Linked DNA regions of Homo sapiens: region 1 is linked to region 2. The links are contacts of gene promoters, found by promoter capture Hi-C in human tissues and cell types (Jung and others, 2019). All regions are on one chromosome and are shown on one strand. The core of a region is centred on a gene start or on the middle of the fragment in contact, and the rest is flanking DNA. Distances in the headings are between cores, read along the strand shown. Region 1 holds the start of CITED4 (Cbp/p300 interacting transactivator with Glu/Asp rich carboxy-terminal domain 4). Region 2 overlaps LOC105378671 (a long non-coding RNA gene).

Region 1 (6,142 bases), core at 211-2,710, 710 kb before region 2:
TGGAGGGTAAGGTTCTGGGAGGCTGTCTCCTGGCCACAGGAAAGACTCCAGTTGCCCTAAGGACTTGGAAAACACATGGCATTCACACGCTAACTCTGGCTGCCTGTGACCTCAGGACAGCCACTTTCTCTTTGTGTGCTTCTCCTTATCACTGAAATGGGGCTGATAATCCATGCCCTGCCCCCAACAAAATACTTGTAGAATGTAAAGCACTTTAAAAGTCCAAGTTATTATTGCTGTTATCAAGAGAAGGCCCTTTGGGACAGAACTTAAATAGCCTTGGCCGGGCGCGGTGGCTCACGCCTGTAATTCCAGCACTTTGGGAGGCCGAGGCGGGCGGATCACGAGGTCAGCAGATCGAGACCATCCTGGCTAACACGGTGAAACCCCGTCTCTACTAAAAATACAAAAAAAATTAGCCGGGCGTGGTAGCGGGCGCCTGTAGTCCCAGCTACTCGGGAGACTGAGGCAGGAGAATGGCGTGAACCCGGGAGGCGGAGCTTGCAGTGAGCCAAGACAGCGCCACTGCAGTCCAGCCTGGGCGAAAGAGCGAGACTCCGTCTCAAAAAAAAAAAAAAAAAGAACTTAAATAGCCTTTCTTTCATCTAAGGGACACTTTTGAGCATCTACCACATACCAGGCACTGTGCTAGGCACTGTGCACACATGCCCTCACTTACCCCTCACAAAGGGTCAGTGCTGCTGTTCTTTACCTTTTACAGATGAAGAAACTGAGGCTCAGCTGAGAGTTGCAATTCATTCCATCATTAGTTCATTCACTCAGCTTTTACTAAAAGCCTGCTCTGGGCCAGGCTCTGGGCCAAGTGCTGAGAAGAAGAAGATGAACAAGTCCTTCAGGAGACGTGCCCATAAATTAATAACAACTAAGTACATGCTTCAACAGACAAGGTGCAGTGGGAACTAGAGGGGGAGCAACAGGCTCTCCTGGGGGTTATGGGAATGGACAGCTGACCTCCTGCGGGGACCCTGCACCGCTAAGGTGCATGCGCCCTGTGTAGCTGTGCAGTCTCACTTTGATCAAGGCTTTGCTGTGTATTTCCAGGAAGCCTCTTCCGCCACTGAGCCTCGGTCTCTACCTGGAAAGTTAAAAGGTTGCGTAGGCCTGACATCCTGCAGCTCTTGGGGGGCCTAAAACTCTGGCCCTCCCACCCCACCTTCTGGTCAGTTCAAGCTCTACCCCAGCCAAGTCCGATTCCGAAGCCCTGAGGGCCAGACCGAATCCCTCCGAAAGTGCCAAATACCCCGCCCCAGGGCGGTGCTCAGAGCCTGGGGCGTGGCCGGAGTCCCAAGGGGCGGGGTTCCAGTGGGAGGGGCGGGGCCAAGACCTAGATGCAGGCGTGCGCGGCCCGCCCAGAAGCGTCTCGCCCAGCCAATGAGCGTCCGAGGGCGGGGAAGCCCCGCCTCTGGGTATAAGAATACGCCGAGCCCAGCTACGCGACGCGGAGGTTTCGGAGCACTACAGGTTGCGGGCCTTTGTGACCCCAGGCTGCGGCCGCAAGGTGCGCAGTAGTGGGCTGGGCCGGGGCACCAGTCGGGTTTGGTTTTGCTCCGCCCGGCCGAGCTGCAGGGACCGCACGGTGCCCGGGTCTCCCGCCGCAGAGCAGCCGCTGGCCCGGGCCGGGGGAGCCGGCGCTGACCACCGCGCGCTGTCCCCGCAGGCAGCCGGCCTGCCGCCATGGCCGACCACCTGATGCTCGCCGAGGGCTACCGCCTGGTGCAGAGGCCGCCGTCCGCCGCGGCCGCCCATGGCCCTCATGCGCTCCGGACTCTGCCGCCGTACGCGGGCCCGGGCCTGGACAGTGGGCTGAGGCCGCGGGGGGCTCCGCTGGGGCCGCCGCCGCCCCGCCAACCCGGGGCCCTGGCGTACGGGGCCTTCGGGCCGCCGTCCTCCTTCCAGCCCTTTCCGGCCGTGCCTCCGCCGGCCGCGGGCATCGCGCACCTGCAGCCTGTGGCGACGCCGTACCCCGGCCGCGCGGCCGCGCCCCCCAACGCTCCGGGAGGCCCCCCGGGCCCGCAGCCGGCGCCAAGCGCCGCAGCCCCGCCGCCGCCCGCGCACGCCCTGGGCGGCATGGACGCCGAACTCATCGACGAGGAGGCGCTGACGTCGCTGGAGCTGGAGCTCGGGCTGCACCGCGTGCGCGAGCTGCCCGAGCTCTTCCTGGGCCAGAGCGAGTTCGACTGCTTCTCGGACTTGGGGTCCGCGCCGCCCGCCGGCTCCGTGAGCTGCTGAGGGCGGCCGGCGCCCGCCCGGCGTGCCGGAGAGGAGAAAGGGCCCGACTGCCCGCCGGACCCTGCACCCAGCGACTGGGCCCCGCGCGCGCCCTCCGCGAGGGTGGAGGCGGCGGCTGTGTGCGCAGGGCCCGGCACCGGACTGGGACCCTGGCGTCCCTCCAGGCCTTGCCTCCTGCGGGAGGACAGTTTGGCTTCACTTCTCTGACCCCAGCCTCGGCCGTAAAGTGAAAGAGACCGGACCAGCTTCAGCTTTCGGACTCTGGTTCTTGGATCGTGTCCTCTCCCCCTCGCCGCCCTCTTCCCCCAATCTGAGCCATTGCAGGCCTCTGCCTGCTGCCCCCTCTCTCCTCGGGATCGGGTCCCCAGAGCCACCATCTCCTGAGCCTCCCACCCCGCTGCCTGGGCCCTGTGGTTGCTGGGCCTCCCACCTCAAGGAGGGGAAGGTTGTACAGCCCGAACCCGTGGAGCAATGCCCTGTCTGGCCTCCAAAACCAAAATAAAACTGGGTCACTTTACAGTCTTGCCGTTTTCATTTCCTTATCACCCCGAGCCCTGACTATATTTAGCTTCCAAAGTCCCAAGGTTGCTGAAGACACTGGATGGCATGGGGGCCACAGTCCCCAGCAGTGCCCAGGAGAGGAAACCGACAGTTTCTTTCAAAAATATCTCGTGGGTTGTGCAATTGTTATGTCACAACCTGGAGGGCAGAGGCTGCCACTGGGTGGTGGGGTAACCCACTGGGCTTCCCAGCTCCTAGGGTAGGGTGGGGGGAGCTTGGTGCTCTGCCAGAGAGGAGCTGGGTGGCACCGAGTTCAGACAGCCTAGCTTTGGACCCTGACTCTCTCCTTTGCCCAAGACACCATCCGTTCTGATTTTTGAGGCGGTTTCCCAGAGGGAGATGGTCCCCGTCTCCTCAGGTAGTTACGCTGCCTTTAGCACAGTGCCAAATACCTGGGCAGTTCTCAGTAAGTGACGGCAATTATTATTCTACAAATTGGTGCTGATTTTATTCCAGGCCCTGTGTCAACCTGGTGCATGTTCTCATGGAATCACAGCCCAGGTGGGAGGAGGTGGGTGATAGGCCTGAAAACAAACTAATCTTGCTGCAAGGAAGACTGTGATGAGTTCTAGAAAACAGTGCTAAGCAGCACTTTGGGAGGCCGAGACGGGCAGATCACGAGGTCAACAGATCGAGACCATCCTGGCTAATATGGTGAAACCCCGTCTCTACTAAAAATATAAAAATTAGCTGGGCATGGTGGTGCGCGCCTATAGTCCCAGCTACTCGGGAGGCTGAGGCAGGAGAATCGCTTGAACCCAGGAGGCAGAAGTTGCAGTGAGCCGAGATCATGCCACTGCACTCCAGCCTGGCAACAGAGCGAGACTCCTCAAGAAAAAAGAAAATAGTTCTGGGGGGGATTGTACAGCCAGGACAATAGACCGGCCAAGCGGGCACACCCAGAGAAGGGAGCAGTTTCAGCTATTAATAGTTGAGGTTGGGGTCAGTTCAGGCTTCAGGGAAGCGGTGACATTTGACGTGATGAACAGAGCCTTGAGTGATGAATATGTTTTTAGGAGAGGAGCCTGTTTCAAGGCAGGAAGGCACACAAGTACGATGAATGTTTGGGGAAGGTGTGGGGTGTCTAGAAGGTACAAGAAAGGTCGAATGGCTTTACGACAACTTCGTGAGGCAAGCACAGTCCTCATTCTACACATGAGGGTTGTGGAGTGTGCCCAGGCCTGGCAGGATTTGGCCTCAGAGTCCTGAGCACCAGCGTGAGTTCCTGGCCACCCTCTGCAGTTCACTCTGGAAAAATCCCTAGGTGCTTCTGAGATGTGGGAGAAAAGCTGGGAAAGAGATTGAAGTCAGGGAGGAGGCCGGGTCAGAGACGCTGCGGTGGTGGGGCATTCTCTAGGAGAGCATGGATTCCAGGGACACTGGAGGGGAACACCAGGCTGAGACCTTCTGTCCCCAGCAGCTGGGCTTGACTCTCAAGCCAGGCTTTTTTGTGGATGTGACCCTCCACCAACCTGTGAGTTCTCCCAGGACCTACTGTGCTCTGAAGCTACCAGGATGGAATGTGGCTGGTGACAGGAGGTGTTTGGCAAATGAATAAAGGTCTCCCTAAGATCATGGGATTTCTGGGACAGGATGAAGAGAGAAAGGAAGAGAGCCTTCTGGGAAGGGACTGGCCTGAGCTCTGGGCTCAGAGGGGCTGGCATTTGCCCACCCCACCGCCCCGCTGCTTTGCCCAGAACCCCAGGCCAGAGACAGAAACCACAGGGCTGAATTAGTACAGGAGGGTTTGACCCTGAGCTGAACACTTCCCTGATTCTCTTCTCTCTCCCCTCAGTTTCCACACCAGTAAAATGGGGCTAATATCCCTGCCCTGCTACATTACAAAGCAATAACCCTCACAATTAGTAAGGAACAAATTCAGAGATGGGTTGATAAGCAGTTGGCAAACTCTGAAGTGCTCTCCATATGGAAGGGATTACAACGAAAACCCCAACACCTGCCTCTTTCCAGAGTTAAGGGGGAAGCGGAGGAGAGAGTCCAGCTGCTGAGCTCTTCCCTCCTGCATCCCTCCAAAAGGGACTGCTGACAAGTTGGACAGCAGACAGATGGACAGGGGAGAAGATGAGGCTGGGGCATCCCACAGCCTGGATCCCCAAATCCCTGATACTGTTTGGAGGCTTCTGACCCTACCATCCCCTACCAGGGGAAGAGAGAGTACGTGTAGAGACAGTGAGGAGAGCAATGGGCTTGTCGTCTGACAGCCTCAGGGTCCAGTTCAGAAGCAACTCTTACTAGCTGCCTGACCTCAAGGAAGCCACCACACCTCCCGCATCTTGGCTCTCCTAAGATAATCACACGAGCTTCCGTGGTGCCAACAGGGTGTCGCTCATGTCTCCCCCAGGGCTGCCTCCTAAAGCAACCTGTTGCCAAAGGGTGCTGTGGATTTCTCTCTTATACCTAGGCTGGATCTTGGGGGTCAGAAATCAGGCTTCCTCAGGGTTGAGAACTGAGTCATGACACAAGTCATTTTCCCATCCTTTTGTTGTTGTTGTTTTGTTTTGTTTTCCTATTCATATGAAAGTTTCCAGGCTGATGTTCTTTATTTTGAATTATCTTTTGGTTGACTGGATTTTATCAACAAGCTGTCATTTGTGTGTGTGGTTTTTTTTCCTTCAAGAAAAGTATAATTTCCCTTGAACTCATCTCTACAATGGGAATGCTAATAGTACCACCCTGCAGAACTGCTGTGGAGATTAAACAAGTTAGTGCAGGTAAAGTATTGAGAGCAGTGTGGTTTGTAGTAAGTGCTGTTATCCCTGATAACAGCACTTTTTGGAGATGCCTTTGTATTAGAATATTAGAAAGGCTGTGTTTTAACCAGCTAGAAAGGGGTTACTCCAACAAGCAACACTGTTACAGGTGGGGTTCCCTGGGAAGCAGACTCTGAGATGACATTCAGCTAGCAAGAGGTGTATTAGGGAGTGCCTTCAGGATCAGCAGCTGCAGAAGGGAGGGGACAGAAGGAGCTAAGAAGCTACAAAGCAGGCCCAGCAGGAGCCTCAGCCAGCCCCGCTGGGAGCTCTGGAGCTAGAAGGGCCCTTCAGAGTTGGCCTGAGTTGGACCATTTTAATCCTTTATACTCCTGCCTCCATCAGTCACTGGATGTGAGCCACCCAGAGAAGTGGTGTGACTGTGGGCAAGGCAGCTGTCCCCAGCTAAGCTCATCCCTGGAGGAGCTGCCAGGGTACGGCTGTCTACCAACAGCAGCACTCCTGGGGGCTAGAGCAATGATTCCTTTTCTTCTCTTTTCTTTTGTTCTTTTTTTTTTTTTTTTTTTTGAGACAGAGTCTCACTCTGTCGCCCAGGCTGG
Region 2 (6,827 bases), core at 1,233-3,732:
GTCTGCACATTCTCCTGGTGTTTTTTTTCTTGATTTCTTTTCTTTTATTCTCTCTTTTCTTTGTGATTTCTAAGTGTCCCAGGCATAGTCTGTCAACTTCTTTTCTATCTACACTCACTGCTACACTCACCCAGTTCTAATACATGTATGTGCTTATGACAATACCACCCTAAGTCCAGGCAACAAGGGCCCTGCCCTGGGTCCCACACTTTAGAGGACTACACAAACCTCTCTCTCTCTTTCTTACACACACACACATGCACACACACACACACACACACAGTAACTATATTAAAGAACACATGGGCACCCCTATCATTTGAAATCCAGCACTCAGCACAAGTACAATCTTAAATATTTGCTTTCTTGAGGCAGGGTCTCACTCTGTCACCCATGCTGAAATGCAGTGGTATGATCACAGCTCACTGCAGCCTTGGCCTTCCTGGACTCAAGCAAGCCTCTCACGTCAGTCTCTTGAGTAGCTGAGACTACAGAAATGCAACAACAAGCCTAGCTTTTTTCCATTTCTATTCTTTTCTTTCTTCCTTTGTTTCTTTGTTTCTTTCTTTCTTTCCTTCTTTCTTCTTCTTCTTCTTTTTTTTTTTTTTTGACGGAGTTTCCCCTTTGTCACTAGACTGGAGTGCAGTGGGGTGATCTCAACTCACTAGAATTTCTGCCTCCTGGGTTCAAGAGATTCTTCTGCCTCAGTCTCCTGAGTATCTGGGATTGCAGGTGTGCATCACCACACCCGGATAAATATTTGCTTTCTTTACCACTACTATTCAGGCTTTAGGGAACCTCTTTATCACGTCTCTTGCTCCATATACTCAAAGCTGAAAGGCACCAAAAGAATTGAAACCAGAGACATGAACAAATATTTGTACATTTGTGTTCACAACACTGTTATTCATAATAACCAAACGATAAAAATGACCCAAATGTCCATGAATGAATGAATAAATAAATGAATGTGGTATAGACATGCAATGGAATGTTATTCAACCTTAAAAAGGAAAGAAATTCATTCCTGAAAAAACAGGGGGAGGGAGGAAATTCTGACACGTGCTACAACATGGATAAATGTTGATTATGCTAAGTGAAACAAGCATCATAAAAAGACAAATGTTGTATGAGTCCACTTATATGAGGTATATAGAGTAGTCAAATTCATAGAGTAAGAAAGAATAATGGTGGTTGCCAGGGGCTGGGGGAGAGAGAGGCCAGCAGAGTTATTGTTTAATGGATGTAGAATTTCAGTTTGGGAAGATGAAAAAGTTACGGTGATGGAGGGTGGTGATGCTTGCACAACAATGTGAATGTACTTAATGCCACTGAACTATACACTTAAAAATGGATAAAATGATAAGCTTTACCTTATGCATATTTTACCACCATTAAAAAAATGAAAGACAACTGCATCCTAATGTCTTGAAGGTTTTGGGTTGTGCTACTTAAGAGAAATAGGCACACTGTTTTTGAAATGCTACGTAGAGTGTGTTCGAGCTACAGAAGCACTTGGGTAAGAGAAAACACAAATTAGCTTGTCATACTCTTCCTCTTAGATAGCATAAATGCATTTTCTTGCATAACCATGTATTGTTTCTTGGTAGTGGCAGATGTTCCTTTTTTTAATTGTCTCCATACACACATATGCGTATACACTGATATATACATGTATCTGTCTAGATGTAACATGAGTAGAGAGTAAGACTGAACATTTACATAATCATAAATAGACAATGAATATTAGCATTGGGAATAACTATTTGTACAAAAATATTTAATAAGACTGAATTGTTTTTTAAATGAAATTTACAATTCTAGCATTATTTACTTAATTTTAATTTAAAATTGTGAAAGAAAATAGTCTATTTTGAGCTTCTAAAAGTTGTTAGGCCCTAAGCAAGGTTGACTTTGGAGACTGAGTCACAAAGCATGACCTCTTGTTTACTGGCATTTTTGTTTTTTTGTTTTTGTTTTTTTTGACACAAGGTCTTACTTTGTCACCCAGTCTGGAGTGCAGTGATCTCAGCTCACTGCAACCTCAACTTCTTGGTTCAAGAGATCCTTCTGCCTCAGCCCCTCAAGTAGCTGGAACTACAGGCACATGCCACCACACCAAGCTAATTTTTGCATTTTTTATAGAGATGGGGTTGCTGGTCTCAAACTCCTGGACTCAAATGATCTGTCCATCTCAGCCTTTCAAAGCCCTGGGATTACAAGCGTGAGCCACTGTGCGTGGCGGCCTTTTGTTATAGATTAACTTCCTTCCTATTTTCTTTTACTTGGCTCAAACAAGAAAAAAAGACCCCTTGACTATTACATCCTTAATGTGAAATGTGAAATATACCCTTCCCCCAAAAGAAACACTGCATATAATCAATCAAATTGCTGTATCTATGCATTAATCTTGTATGCAAAATGTTGAAATCCTGGTAAGCTTCCCCAGACTTTACCTATTTAAGCACCCTCAAACCTCTCCATTTCAGAGCACTGACCCCATCTTTTTGGAGTCTATATCCTCTCAGATGGCCACCCTCAAATTTACACTCGAATAAACTCAATATTTAATACTGTTGCCTGAATTTCATTATTAAGGTTGACATTTTGGCGACCATGAAGGGACCTAAGGCAAACCTTCATTCCAGTGATTCCTGTCATTTCACTAACAGCCAAAATCTTGGTACCAGCATGAACAACTTTTGTTCATCCACCCTCAAAAGAACTAATGGGGATCCCTGGTAAGGCTCCTCTCAGGTTGTAGTCCTCTTGGCTTTGATGAGGATTCAGACTTTATTCCAGCTATACACTTCTAACTGGAGGAAGTAAGAATTAAAGCTCTGCTGCAAGATAGGAGTTTCATTTGTTATTCTGTAGAGATTCTGCTGATCATAGATTTGTGACTTTCAGTCGGGTGCAGTGGCTCACACCTGTAATCTCAGCACTTTGGGAGGCCGAGGTGGGTGGATCACTTGAGGTTGGGAGTTCGAGACCAGCCTGGCCAACATGGTGAAACCCCGTTTCTACTAAAAACACAAAAATTAACTGGGCGTGGTGGCACATGCCTGTAGTGCCAGCTACTCAGGAGGCTGAAGCAGGAGAATCACTTAAACCCAAGAGGCAGAGGTTGCAGTGAGCCGAGATCACACTACTGTATTCCAGCCTGGGTGACAGAGCAAGACTATGTCTCAAAAAAAAAAAAAATTGTGACTTTCACTTTTCTGTGAGGTTAAGGTTTTTGTTTTGAATTACTCCTTAGAGTTTTTACAACTTTTTCTCTCATTCAAAATGTTGATAAGGTGAAAAACAGTTTATTTTTAAAAAGAGGAAGTAAATCTTTGTGGTTTAAGCAAAAATGTTATAATATTTAAAGCTAGCCAGGTTCTGAGGCTTGGTTCAATTGACAAATTCAAGCTTGCTTCTTGAGTGACCAAAATTATGAAATACTCTGTATAAGGATGAAATAAGTCCTGAAGATAATAGACACTGTTTCTCCCAGCTAAAAGTCACCTTAAGCAACTAAGGTCTAGTGTGAGTATCTGAGTTAATCACTCCTGATAAGTAACAGTCTCACAGGAAATCCCTTAAGTAGAATTTAAAGGAAACCTTGCTTAATCTGGTGAGCACACATAAAGGATTGATTACCCTGTATCTTAAGCATCCAAGTTTGTTGGTATCATTGAGATTTGTATGTGAGAAGAACTGACTCAAGAGTGACACCTTGAGGAGCTATTTTCGCAAGCAGCACACTCGATCTCAAAACAACTTTCACTAAGTCTTTTGGTCTTAGGGATCTCAAAACAACTTTCTTGATCTCAAAACAACTTTCCCTAAGTCTTTTGATGCACTATGGGCAACTGTGCATCTAAAACTGAACCTTCCTCCTTAAGAGAGACCCACTATTAGAAACTCCAGCTGGATTTATAGTTAACACATATGACATGATGCCTTTTCAGGTAAGTATTTAGAAAACTGCTCGTGAATAACTCACAATGACTCCAAATTATAATGGCCAAAATGGTGTGCCTTTGAAATGCCTAATCTAGTTTACTTATATGCTCAATTAGAATAAGCTGGCTCTAAAATAAAACAGAGCAATTGGAAAAGTTATTTTCAATGGCATTTAGAGGCTTCCAAAAGAGGTTTTGATAAAGTTCTTTCTTTACAGAAAGAAAACAAAAGATTCTCTGAAACAATTTCTGAAATAAAAAAGCTGCTGAAATTTCTCCTCCTCAACTCCTCCTTCTCTTTATCCTTCATTATCTCAACTACTTTTTCTTCCTCCTCCCACTTCTACTCCCATTGTTCTGGCTCCATTTTGTGAGTAGCTGGTGTCTGGTAGGGGAGAACCTACCTTGGTTTATGAACCAAGGTGAAATCTAAAGGCATAGTTAAAGAATTCCCTGACTCTCACCTGGACCCTACTCATTTTACCAGACAATTTGAATGGAATATTCAAGCTTATGATCCTGTTGTTTTTTTTCTAATTTATACTAACTAGTTCACATGTTAACATCAAAAAGTAAAGCTAAAGGCGGAGCTTGGTGGCTCATGCCTATAATCCCAGACCTTTGCAAGGCCAAGGTGGGTGGATCACTTGAGGTCAGGAGCTCGAGACCAGCCTGACCAACATTACAGGCATGAGCCACGCGCCCGGCCTAAGGAGTCTTATATCTCAGTCAAGAATCAGTCAAGGAGACTTATATAGACTCAGTCAAGGAGTCTTGTATCTCAGGTACCATCTGAGTCAGGTACAAGAAAATAAGAAAGGAAATTAATCTATAATAAAAAGTCAAGATTAAGAGGTCATGCTCTGTGACTTGGTCTCCAAAGTCAATCTTCCACAAAACCTAAGCTTTTAGAAGCCCCAAATAGACAGACTATTCCTTTTCTTTCACATTTTCCCCTTTTCTTCAAGATCTTTGAAGAAAGCATTACGGAAGAAGCATTTGTTAGAGAGTAGTTATATCTCACATCACTAGGAAGTCTCATTCCTAGAGAGTCATGCCCCACAGAGAGGGGAAATGTTTAATTCATAAGCCGAAAGAAGCCAAAGCCTAATTATGAACAACAGAAGGAAAGTATAACTTAGTGGTCTGATTCTGGTTGTGTGACTTATTTTCAATTAAGGCAACTTTTTAAGCAATTATTATTCTAGTTTTAGTCATTGATCACAAGCAAGCTGAAACACGAATCATGAGTAATTTGATAACTAGGAAAATGGAAACTGTACTTATGATTATAATAACAATTACTTGAAGACCAGAACGAAAAAATGAACTTAGCCCTGAGGGTAACCAACTAAACAAGTCATTTAGAGAATCCATTTTCTTTTCTTTCTTTCTTTCTTTTCTTTTCTTTCTTTTTTTTTTTTTTTTTTTGAGACAGAGTCTTACTCTGTCACCCAGGCGGGAGTGCAGTGGCATGATCTTGGCTCACTGCAACCTTCGCCTCCTGGGTTCAAGTGATTCTCCTGCCTCAGCCTCCTGAGTAGCTGGGACTACAGGGGTGTGCCATCACGACCAGCTAATTTCTGCGTTTTTAGTAGAGATGGGGTCTTGCCACTTTGGCCAGACTGGTCTTGAACTCCTGGCCTCAGGTGATCCACCTACCTTGGCCTCCCAAAGTGCTGGGATTACCGGCGTGAACCACTGTGCCAGCCTAGAGAATCCATTTTCTAACATCTTATAACCATTAGTCTTTTGAGTTTTATTTATTTATTTATTTTTGAGATGGAGTCTCACTCTGTCCCCCAGGCTGGAGTGCAGTAGCGCAATCTTGGCTCACTGCAACATCTGCCCCATGGTTTCAACCACCGTGCCTGGCTTTTTTTTTTTTTTTCGATGGAGTCTTGCTCTGTTGCCCAAGCTGGAGTGCAGTGGTACAATCTCGGCTCACTACAACCTCCGCCTCCCAGGCTCAAGTGATTCTCCTGCCTCAGCCTGTTGAGCAGCTGGGATTACCGGCGCCCACCACCATGCCCAGCTAATTTGTGTAGTTTTAGTAGAGATAGGGTTTCACCATGTTGGCCAGGCTGGTCTCAAACTCCTGACCTCAAGTGATGTGCTCACCTTGGCCTCCCAAAGTGCTAGGATTACAGGTGTGAGCCACCACGCCCAACCAAGTTATTCTTTTAAATTGAGTCTGCACTTCTCTAGAGGTATTAACATAGATACAACAAGTGATGTGTGCTACTGCACAGACTCCTCCTTTTTCAGCCAATACATAGTCAAAGGCAATTCTGTTATCTAGTATTACCTGGGCTAAGGAGGTCAAACATTTTTGGTGAGCTGCAATGCTTCTTGCATTGTCTCCAGCTATCTGACCAATACGAGCTGATAGGTTTTTATTCATCTCTATTAATATGAACTCCCAGCACTCAGGATTAGTGTTCCCAAAATGCTGTGACCTAAATTATTTCAATACTCTGCTAACGGCTGGGCGCAGTGGCTCATGCCTGTAATCCCAGCACTTTGGGAGGCCGAGGCGGGCGGATCACCTGAGGTCCGGAGTTCAAGACCAGCCTGACCAACATGGAGAAACCCCATCTCTACTAAAAGTACAAAAAATTAGCCTGGTGTGGTGGTGCATTCCTGTAATCCCAGCTACTCCGGAGGCTGAGGCAGGAGAATGGCTTGAACCCGGGAGGCGGAGGTTGCTGTGAGCCGAGATCGCGCCATTGCACTCCAGCCTGGGCAACAAGAGTGAAACTCCATGTCAAAAAAAAAAAAAACAAAAATACTCTGCTAACATAGTCTTCTTATCTCTGTAATAGAGAAAGGGGGGGTCCATATATATATATATATTCTCCTTCCTCTGCCTCAGCC

Evidence for each region. The method cuts DNA at HindIII sites, captures the fragments that hold promoters and counts their contacts. A contact is called where the count stands out against the background at its distance.
Region 1: a contact is called between the fragment with the promoter of CITED4 here and a fragment that was not itself captured in region 2, in 1 of the 25 tissues and cell types used here (dorsolateral prefrontal cortex).

Annotation. Positions count from the first base shown.
Region 1 is chr1:40,857,681-40,863,822 of GRCh38, reverse strand. It overlaps CITED4 (Cbp/p300 interacting transactivator with Glu/Asp rich carboxy-terminal domain 4), which reads left to right and starts at 1,460. Exons shown (of 1, transcript NM_133467.3): 1 at 1,460-2,769. The coding sequence starts at 1,696. The coding sequence ends at 2,250. LOC124904157 (a long non-coding RNA gene) reads right to left here and starts at 1,439. Exons shown (of 3, transcript XR_007066025.1): 1 at 713-1,439. RefSeq lists an enhancer at 1,074-1,133 and silencers at 1,234-1,433, 1,594-1,673. The HindIII fragment of the contact is 13,673 bases long and covers 1-6,142 here.
Region 2 is chr1:40,150,100-40,156,926 of GRCh38, reverse strand. All of the region lies in intron 2 of LOC105378671 (a long non-coding RNA gene), which reads left to right. Among named protein-coding and RNA genes, the nearest start is that of RLF, 7.9 kb to the left of the region's middle. RefSeq lists a silencer at 3,073-3,212 and an enhancer at 3,413-3,472. The HindIII fragment of the contact is 4,352 bases long and covers 307-4,658 here.